2 separate regions of the Homo sapiens genome follow, and region 1 is linked to region 2. Evidence: promoter capture Hi-C in 16 types of primary human blood cells and fetal thymus (Javierre and others, 2016). All regions are on one chromosome and are shown on one strand. Each heading gives the region's core, a stretch centred on a gene start or on the middle of the fragment in contact. The rest is flanking DNA. Distances are from core to core; before and after follow the strand shown. Region 1 has its middle 28 kb from the start of LAP3. Region 2 holds the start of FAM184B (family with sequence similarity 184 member B).

Region 1 (5,105 bases), core at 2,600-5,099, 230 kb before region 2:
CCCGGGAGGCTGAGGCAGGGGAATCGCTTGAACCCGGGAGGCAGAGGTTGCAGTGAGCTGAGATCACGCCACTGCACTCCAGCCTAGCGACAGAGCAAGACTCTGTCTCACATAAACAAACAAACAAACAAACAAAAAACAAGCTTTCTGAGGCCTCACCAGAAGCAGAGGCAAGCACTATGCTTTTTTTTTCTTTTTCTTTTTCTTTTTTTTTTGAGATGGAATCTGGTGCTGTTGCCCAGGCTGGAATGCAGTGGCACAATCTCAGCTAACTGCAGCCTCTGCCTCCAAGGTTCAAGTGATTCTCCTGCCTCAGCCTCCCAAGTAGCTGGGATCACAGGTGTGTGCCACCACACTCAGCTAATTTTTGTATTTTTAGTAGAGATGTAGTTTCCCCACATTGACCAGGCTGGTCTGGAATTCTGGACCTCAAGTGATCCACCCATCTTGGCCTCCCAAAGTGCTGGGATTACAGGTGTGAGCCACCACCCCTGTCCTACTATGCTTCTTATACAGAAGCATAGTATAAGATTCTGCAGCATTCTGTCTGCAGAATTGTGAGCGAAAATAAACCTCTTTTATTTATAAATTACCCAGCCTCAGGTATTCTTTAATAGCAACGTAAAATAGACTGACACAACAGCCATCTACAAGCCAAGGAGAGAGTCCTCAGAAGAAACCAACCTTTCTAACATTTTGATCTTGGACTTCTAGCTCCAAAATTATGAGAAAATAAATTTCTGTTGTTGAAGCCACCCAGTCTGTGGCAGCCCTAGCACTCTAATACAAGGGTACAATACGAAGTGGAGGAGGGTCAGGAAAATCAGCAAGACATCAGTTGCAAGAGAGGATAGAGAAGAAAGGATCGGGGAGGTCTCCCAGACCTCTTGTTTGACGACTGAGTAGAAGGCAGTGTCACTACCTGTAACGGGATCCAGGGATGAGGTGGATCTCAGGGCCTGTGGATGAGACATCCCAGTAAAAATGCGTAGCAGACAGTTGGATGTAAAAGTCTGAAGCGTTTCAAGAAGAGTGAAACAACCATGATTTTTGTCCCATTTCTGGGACCCTATTGCTCTGTGATATCTCTGAGCCTCAGTTTCTTCAACTGTAAAAAAGGTATATTGGCGGGGCGTGGTGGCTCACGCTTGTAATACCAACACTTTGGGAGGCCGAGATGGGTGGATCACTTGAGGGCAGGAGTTTGAGGCCAGCCTGGTCAACATGGGGAAACCCCATCTCCAGTAAAAATATAAAAACTAGCCAGGGGTGGTGGTGCATGCCTATAATCCCAGCTAGTGGGGAAGCTGAGGCAGGAGAGTCATGTGAACCCAGGAGGCGGAGGTTGCAGTGAGCCGAGATTGTGTGACTGCACTCCATCTCAAAAAAAAAAAGGTATACTAATACCTTTCCTGTCTACCAAGGAGAGTAGTTGAAGGGGCAAATGATAATAATACCATACATGTAAAAATTTCCTGAAAACTGAATAAGGCAGCATTAAAAAAAAAAAAATATATATATATATATAATTATATATAAGCTTTTCTGGGACGCCACTTTTAAAATCAAAAGATGATTTTAAAGCTTTGTTGAGTTCAGTTGAGGCTTTAAGAACAATTTGCCACAAAATGACAAAGCTCGTTCTGGGCATGATCATTTTATCAAATCCTGGATCTGGTAGTTAAAAGTGTCATTGTTTTCTTTTTTGTTTTGTTCTGTTTGTTACCAAAGGCTATAATTATTTGGTGGCAATTTGCCATTTCTGGAATCTTAATCATACTGGCTTATAATGTGGTCTGCTCTGAACAGAGCTTATTTATAACTACACAACTATGTGCATTTTCTTTAAGACTTAGGAGGAATATTATAAATCAGGGATAAATTGTTTCATAAGTGAATCAGAAAGAAACTAGAGAAGTAATGAGCTTTGACTGCCTTAGGTATTGTTGCTGTGATTGTTAAATGCATTAGCTAATAGTTTTACCATGGATACTATATAATACTATCACACCGTATATGTTTTAATAATCATATCAAAGCAATCCATGGTGCAAAATAATTTCTAAACTATGATTCTAAGGTTAAACATGTCTAAAAATGAAAGTGGTATGACCACCGTTTGCCACTAGGGGGAAGCAATCGATTGACCATAAACTCATCATGTCTCAGCGGGCGTGGGGCTGCCGGTTGGATCAAGGAATCTTGAATGATTCTTTCAGCTCAGAGTCACTCTGTGATTCCACTATGCTTCCAGTTTCAAGTTCCAATTGAGTAAGGAAATACCTTTTAATATTTTAGATAACGTTGCTAAGTATAACGAGGGTTATTTCTCAGCGGGGTGTTGCAGGACCCTAGGAAACAAAAACTGTTAGAACTTTAGAGGTCTTGACTGGGCGCAGTGGCTCACGCCTGTAATCCCAGCACTTTGGGAGGCCGAGGCGGGCGGATCACGAGGTCAGGAGATCGAGACCATCCTGGCTAACACGGTGAAACCCCGTCTGTATCAAAAATACAAAAAATTAGCCGGGCGTGATGGCGGGCGCCTGTAGTCCCAGCTACTCGGGAGGCTGAGGCAGGAGAATGGCGTGAACCCGGGAGGCGGAGCTTGCAGTGCGCCGAGATCTCGCCACTACACTCCAGCCTGGGCGACAGAGCGAGACTCTGTCAAAAAAAAAAGAATTTTAGAGGTCTTACATCCTACCAGTAACCTGTAACGTCACAGCCATAAAGGTTTTCTCTCTGGTCCTCTGTGTCAGCGCAGGGTTGTAAAAATCAAATTACTATACTTGATTAATAACTCATCAAGGATAAAATAGTATAATACATAGGCCCAGCAACTCTAACAAGTGACTGGCCTTTTTTTTTTTTTTTTTTTTTTTTTTTTTTTGTGAGACAGGGTCTCACTTCTCACCCAGGGTGGAATGCAGTGGTGCGATCTCAGTTCACTGCAACCTCCACTTCCCGGGCTCAAGCAATCCTCCCACCTTAGCCTCTCGAGTCTCTGGGACTGCAGGCGTGCGCCACCACACCTGACTAATTTTTGTATTTTTTGTAGAGATGGGGTTTTGCCATGTTGTACAGGCTGGTCTTGAGCTCCTGAGCTAAAGTGATCCGCCTTCTTTGGCCTCTCAAAATGCTGGGATTAGAAGCGGGAGCCACCACACCCTGCCCAAACTCAATTTTATATCTATAAAGTTTCATTCTTTTTAAAGATTATCACTGTAATAATATATATCAGAAAACTTAAAAAAATACAAAATTATGAGAAAGAAGATAAAGATGAAACCACTGTTTATATTTTATTTTCTTAAATGGTTTCCCAAATTACTGTATTTAATTAAGTCAACACCTTAAATCTCTTCTGGAATAAGGAAAGCAGGATGGGTAGATAGACCGACACAGATGTGAGGAATTATCTCAATAGTTTCCAAACCTGGCTGATGGTCAGAATTACCTGGTGAGCGTTTTAAAACTAAATCAGAATCTCTTTGGAGAGGGAGGAGAGGAAAGAAGGAAGCTAGACTCCAGAAAGAGAGAGAGAGCGAGCGAGAGAGGAGTGTGTGTGTGGTGTGTGTGTTTGGAGTTACCCAGTTGATGGTTTAGAGTTGGCATTTGCAAACTGCTGAGGTAAACAAGTTTGCAGGTGTTGCCACAGAAAATATACAGAGCTTCCTTGGTGTTCATGGGGATGTAAAAACAAAAAAAAAGAAAATATAAGGACCAGAATGGTTAAGAACTTAAATTCAACCCCAATAGTGAAGACCAAATTAGAATTAAATTATTTTACCAAAAAAGAAAAATTACTTTGTCATATGAAAAATCGTGGCAAGCATACATTTGACGTATTGATAACTGTAATGATACGTTTGGGTTTTTTTTCAGTCAGTGTTCTTTTATTAGAGAAAGGAGTTTATTGTAATCCTCAATACTGAGAACAGTTTGTCTCTGAAAGTATATGTAGATGAGCAAACTGCTAAACAAGAAAACAGTCCAGGCGCAGTGGCTCACACCTATAATCCCAGCACTTTGGGAGGCCAAGGTGGGCAGATCACGAGGTCAGGAGATGGAAACTATCCTGGCCAACATAGTGAAACCCCGTCTCTACTAAAAACACAAAAATTAGCCGGGCGTGGTGGCACATGCCTGTAATCACAGCTACTCGGGAGGCTGAGGCAGGAGAATTGCTTGAACCAGAGAGTTGGAGGTTGCAGTGAGCCAAGATCACACCACTGCACTCCACCATGGTGACAGGGCAAGACTCCATCTCAAAAAAAAAAAAAAAAAAAAAAAAAAGAGAGAAAGAAAGAAAAGAAAAGAAAACAAGAGTTCTCATTCACAAAGGACCTCTGCAGTTTAAAAATAAAAAAAGGCATCAGGATTTCTCAGGACAGTCACTTACATTTCAGGGACACCAGATTATTCTCTTTTTAATTTTGAGACAGAATCTCACTCTGTCACCCAGGCTGGAGTACAGTGGTGCCACCGCCGCTCACTGCAGCCTCAACTATGGGCTTGTGCCACCACACTCGGCTAATTTTTGTAGTTTTTGTAGAGACAGGAGTCTCACTATGTTATCCAGGCTGGTCTCCAAGTCCTGGGCTCAAGTGATACTACTGCCTCTATTTCCCAAAATGCTGGGATTACAGGTGTGAGCCACTGCTCTTGGCCCAGGGTAGTATTAAAGGAAGATCCCAGACCTGACAGAGGTGAAAATAAGAGAAAAGATGATTAGTCTCCTTTATTGTGGAAGCAGAAGAATGCCAAGAAATTCTTTAAAAGGCAAGTGGTTGGCCATTAATAATCGCCTGGGCTGGGAGTGCAGTGACTGTGGGACTTTGCATAATTTGAATGTTTATTTTATTCTAATATTTTTCCAAGAAGAAGCCATAATTTTATTTATGATAGAAACAGGTACAAATTTCAAACCAAGTTGCAGTTATTCTTTTGAAACACACAAAAACAGTCATTTTCAGGTGGTCACATTGTTAATTCTGTAATAGCAGTTACAATATGATTACTCTTGTTCTTCAAGGCTCGGACTTCCTTTGCTCTCAATACATTTGCTTGTGACATGACCAATTCTACGTCCTTAACTTCCACACCTG
Region 2 (4,983 bases), core at 1,999-4,498:
GACATTTCCAACAATGAATTCCCTCCCATACCAAGGCACCTACAGAAAGAACTATTAAAGGATGGACTTCAGCCAGAAGAAAAGTGAACCCAAAGGGAACACTGTAGATTCAAGAAAAAGAAATAGCAGAAAAATTGATAAAATGTCATAAATTTAATTAACTTTTAACTATAAAAACTATTTTTAAATTTAAGAAGTAAAAACAGATTGAATGCGGTGGCACATGCCTGAGCTTTGGAAGGTTGAGGCGGGAGGATTGCTTGAAGCCAGGAGTTCGAGACCAGCTTGGGCAACATGGTGAGACTCTATTTCTACAAAAAATTTTTGAAAAAGAAAATATTAGCTGGGGGTGGTGGTGTGGACCTGTTCCTAGCTACTTGGGAGTCTGAGGTGGGAGGATTGCTTGAGGCCAGGAGCTTGAGGCTCCAGTCAGCCATGACTGTGCCACTACACTCCAGCCTGGGTAACAGAGCAAGACCCTGTCTCTTAAACAAACGAACAAAAAAGTAAAAATAAAACTCTAGGCAGCAATAAAAAGATGGGAAGGAAGGGGCTGTTAAATGAGTAAAATATACAAAGTTCTTTCATGGGAAGAAACAATTACATACTAACTTTGTTAGCAAAAAAATCAGAGTTAAGTATGTATGTTGAAAAAATAAAAGACGATTCTGAGAAGAATAGAAATAAAACCTAAAGCTCTCAAACCAGCAGTGGAATATGTATCACTTTACTAATCTGATAGAAGGCAAGAATGGAAGAAAAAGAAGCAAGGAGAAAGAATGGTAAATGAAAAACACAAGATCTGATGGAAGAAGAGCCCAAATATATTAGTAATCGCAATAAATCCCTGTGGATTAAATTCATCTGTCAGAGACACAACCAAAATAAAACTCATAGAAAGATTAAATATGAAGGACAATATTTCACATACAAATAGTAGCCAAAAGAATGGTGGCCTATTAATAACAAAAACTTCTAATTTAAGCAATTAGCATAAAAATGGTAAACAGACGCACTACATAAGGATCAATTGCGATTTCTAATGCAGAATATACTTTAAGAAACACTGCCTACTGTGTGCCAAGAATCATGTATGCCTTCTATACTGCTGTGTTTTCAGTGCTTGGCACATAATAGGTGTGCCATAAATATTAATGAGTGGAATGATTGCTATTTTATATTGAAATGATCTGTTTATGTGTTTGTCATACCACAAGGGCAAGACCATATCTTACTAATTGTTATGCCATCAACATTCAGCATAGCAGCTGGCACATAGTAGGAATTCCATAAGTCCACACTGAATTCAAGGATCATCTCTTCCATAAAATCTCCCCTCACTGTTCCTCCCATACTGATTTGTCCTTTGTTTCTACTTCTATAGCACTCGTAATTGGAAACACCCAATTTAGCACCCAAGACATAGTATAGTCTTCTAGCTTTCACTCAATATTTCAAATCTTGTTTCTTTAAAACTATTTTAGATTCTTTGAAGATAGAGAAGATGCCTTGCACTGTGCCAAGTGCCTTTTCAGGTACTTGAATAAATACATGTTTTGGTTGATGTCACTATTTACATGAATGTAGGTTAGATCAATAGTACCAGCTATACATGTCAAGAACGCTAAGGGCTATCTCCAGTCTCTTTTTTCATTCCTTGACCAAAGAGAGCCCTGTTTGGAGACAGGCTCACGTGCAAAGAATGTGAAGTTAATGAGACAGGTGGGAGAAGGCGGCTAGTGTTCAATTCCAAGCCCCTGTGCTCTATTCCTCCTGGCAAAATAGTGAGGTTGGCGGGACAGGGGGAGGGGAATGTCTGTGATCCCACAAAAAAATGTGTGGGAAGTGAGAGGGAGATGGTGAGGAAAGAGAGCATGTTCCAGACGCTACAGGACAGACCTGGACCTGACCTCTCCCTGGCGGGCATGGCACCAGGAGTTTATTATGAGACCGAAAGGAAACCCCAAGGCAAACAGCTAAATTCATCCACTTGAAACCTTGTATAGGAGACAGTGAGGGATGTTGTTTTCCATCTAGACAAGGCACAGAGGGGAGTCTGTGACAAGGAGCTTCTAATTGGGGAGCTGCAGAGGGTTAACAAAGAGCACTGGTGGCATCTTTTTGCTGGTCTTCTTGAAAAAGACATAGTCTGGGAAGGTTCAATCAGAGCCCCCTGCACGAGGTAAGGAGGTGGGCTGGCTGACTTCCCTAGGTCCTTCCTAATCCCATAGTTATTTGGTGAATCGTGCTCTTCCCCATTTATGCTCCTACACACGTCTGCACCCAGTTTGATAGTAAGTCCCCTAGGCTGCATTCCAGGTTTAGTACGGTGCCACGCAAGCTGCTGGCACTCAACAAATGACGCAAATATTTGTTGAATGAAGGAATAAATGGATCAAGTGTTTAAATAGAGCCCACATGACCTCCCCAGCTGTAAAGTATGGCAGTTGAATGAAATCACAACATTCTAGGCACTTGAGCAAAGCTGGCGGGGACACACACACACACACGATTCACATTCCCACCTTGGAAAAGCACAGACCACCTGCCCAGCCAGCAGGCTGTGGGAGTTTCCTTGGCAAGGATCCTCTTTCTCTGCTGCTTTAGGATGGTGCCTCTAGAAGGTCAAGTCACCCAGATTTAGGACCGCTTCCCTTCCCGGTTGGCCTCCGAGACAAAGTTTCTGTCTGGATTTGGCCCGGGCCTCCCGGGAGGCGCATCCGCACTGACTCCCGGCTCGGGCGCCCCGGGCGTGCAGCTCGCTGGCCCGCTGCGCCCCACCTTACCTTGGTGAGCTGGGCGATCTTCTTGCACATTTTCACGTGCATCTGGGGATCACAGTCCATTCTCCAGCCGGCGCCACCGTCGGCTTTGGAGCCCTGGCAAGTGCCGGGCGGGTTAATTTTGCTGTTGAGAGCAGAAGCCATCGCTAAAACGCGCCCAGCACTCAGACTCTCTCGTTTTCTCCCTGCCCACCGTGTGCACGTGCGTGCGCGCGCGGGCGTGCGAGCGTGTGGGTTTCTCGGGAGAGGTGGCACTGCAGTCCCGTCGCCTGCACCGCCGCGTGGCCCCAGCTTCCCGAAGGTCTCCGCCTCCCGGGCCCACCCGCGCGCCCACCCTTTTTCCTCTCCTGCTGGTTCTCTGGCTGGCTGGCTCCGCGGGCACCCGCACCCTGCGGCGAGGCGTCGGCGCCCCGCACGTGCCGCTGGCGATCAGTCTGCAGTTCCCCAGCCAGTGCAGGTTTCGTGTGCAAGGGGAGAGCTTCCGCGGCTAGGAGCTGCCGGCCTTGGGGGGTTTGCGGTGGGCGGGCACTGCGCTCTTGGACACGTGGGTGGCGCGCGGCCCTGGACTTGGTGGCGACGGACCCTGCCCGAGGTGGGGATCCCAGGCTAAAGAGGAAGAAGAGCCTCCGGAGAGGGACAGGGCACAGTGACTGGCGGCCTCCGGAGAGGGACAGGGCACAGTGACTGGCGGCTCCCGAGTCTCCGAGCTGATAGCGGAGATGGCGGTGGGGGACGAGATGCTAAGAGAGGGGCGGGTAGGTGAGGGCGAGCCATCGGGACTCAAGGAGGTGTGGGATCCGGGGCGCACGGTGTGGGCCAGCGCCTGAGTTGCGCGAGTGCACAGCGGGGCTGGGGATGGTAGCCTTCCTTTTTGGATCTTGGAGAGGAGCCAGGACATTGCGGGAGGAATACCGGAGATGCCCAAAGAGGAGAAGCCAAGGGGATGGCAGGGTGCGGGTGACCGAAATCTGAGATGAGAAAGTGCGAAACGGGTAATGCGGGAAGCGGTAGGAACGCAAAGACAAAGTCGTTAGGGAGGTAGAAAGGATGGTGGCAGGTGCGGGAAAGGAAGAAGCAAAGAGGAATGGAGCAGTTAGATGAGTAAAAGATGGAACTGAAAATCTTAGCAAACCGAGCCCATTGAAAGTAAAGTGAGTCGTCCAAATCCACACTACTGGCCTTGGGCAGACTGGAGCCAGACTGTCAAGTTTTCGGATTCTGAGCTGGTGTCTGTTTAGTGTTTGGTGAGGGGAGAGGTTAGCGGGCCAAATTTCTTTCTGGCGTGTTCTCTGGTTTCAGACAGTGGACTTTAAGGGAAAGTGACAGCACCGTGATCAGCTTTTCCTAAAGCTCGAATAATAGGTCTTCATGATAGTTTGCATAGTGAATGTATATCATTTATACATTGCCTTTTATCAGAAATTTTAATAATCTTCATAAACCAAGCAAGCTTCAAAGGGTCTCAGAAACCACAGTTCCACCCATCCATACTGAAGGTAACAAAACCCATTTTTGTCGATGAGGAAAATTGACCCAGAAAATTTGTACCAAGTCAGGCAATTACAAGTAGAACTGTTTCTGAAATAGACATTCCTATTCTAGATTCTGTATCAAATGACCGGCCTCGGTTTTTGATTTCTAATTTACCATCTTAAGTTCTCTTTTTAGCACAACCCCTCCCTCCCCCAGTTCCTTTAGAAAACAGAGACAAAGCCTCTGAGGATGGGGGTCAGGGGGTCAGGAATCCACATTAAACAGCTCTCTGCTTAATTCCAAATTGTGTATTTAGAATATTTTCTGCAGGATCTTAATATATACTAAATTTTACAGGAATTCAACCACTGTGTAAACTAGAGGAAAATTAGCCTTTTTGGTCAAGAACTTTACTAAAAGTTGTTGACCATTTTGGAAAATCACATCAAGGGCCAGGTGGCTCATGATATTTGGTTGCCAATACAACACACTTATTTATTTATTTTTTTTATTTTTTTGAGACAGAGTTTTGCTCTGTCACCCAGGCTGGAGTGCAGTGGCATGATCTCGGCTTACTGCAACTTCTACTTCCTGAGTTTAAGCCATTCTTGTGCCTCAGCCTCCAGAGTAGCTGGGATAACAGGCATGCACCACCACGCCCGACTAATTTTTGCATTTTTAGTAGAGATGGGGTTTCTCCATGTTGGCCAAGTTGGTCTCAAATTCC

What was found. The method cuts DNA at HindIII sites, captures the fragments that hold promoters and counts their contacts. A CHiCAGO score of 5 or more calls a contact.
Region 1: a fragment that was not itself captured here is called in contact with the fragment with the promoter of FAM184B in region 2 in 7 of 17 cell types (neutrophils, endothelial precursors, fetal thymus and 4 more); the score reaches 7.4 in neutrophils.

The regions. Positions count from the first base shown.
Region 1 is chr4:17,547,137-17,552,241 of GRCh38, forward strand. It overlaps the pseudogene NACAP5. Among named protein-coding and RNA genes, the nearest start is that of LAP3, 28 kb to the right of the region's middle. RefSeq lists an enhancer at 2,408-2,527. The HindIII fragment of the contact is 4,535 bases long and covers 1,583-5,105 here.
Region 2 is chr4:17,778,373-17,783,355 of GRCh38, forward strand. It overlaps FAM184B (family with sequence similarity 184 member B), which reads right to left and starts at 3,249. Exons shown (of 18, transcript NM_015688.2): 1 at 2,787-3,249. The coding sequence starts at 2,927. The HindIII fragment of the contact is 8,098 bases long and covers 1-4,231 here.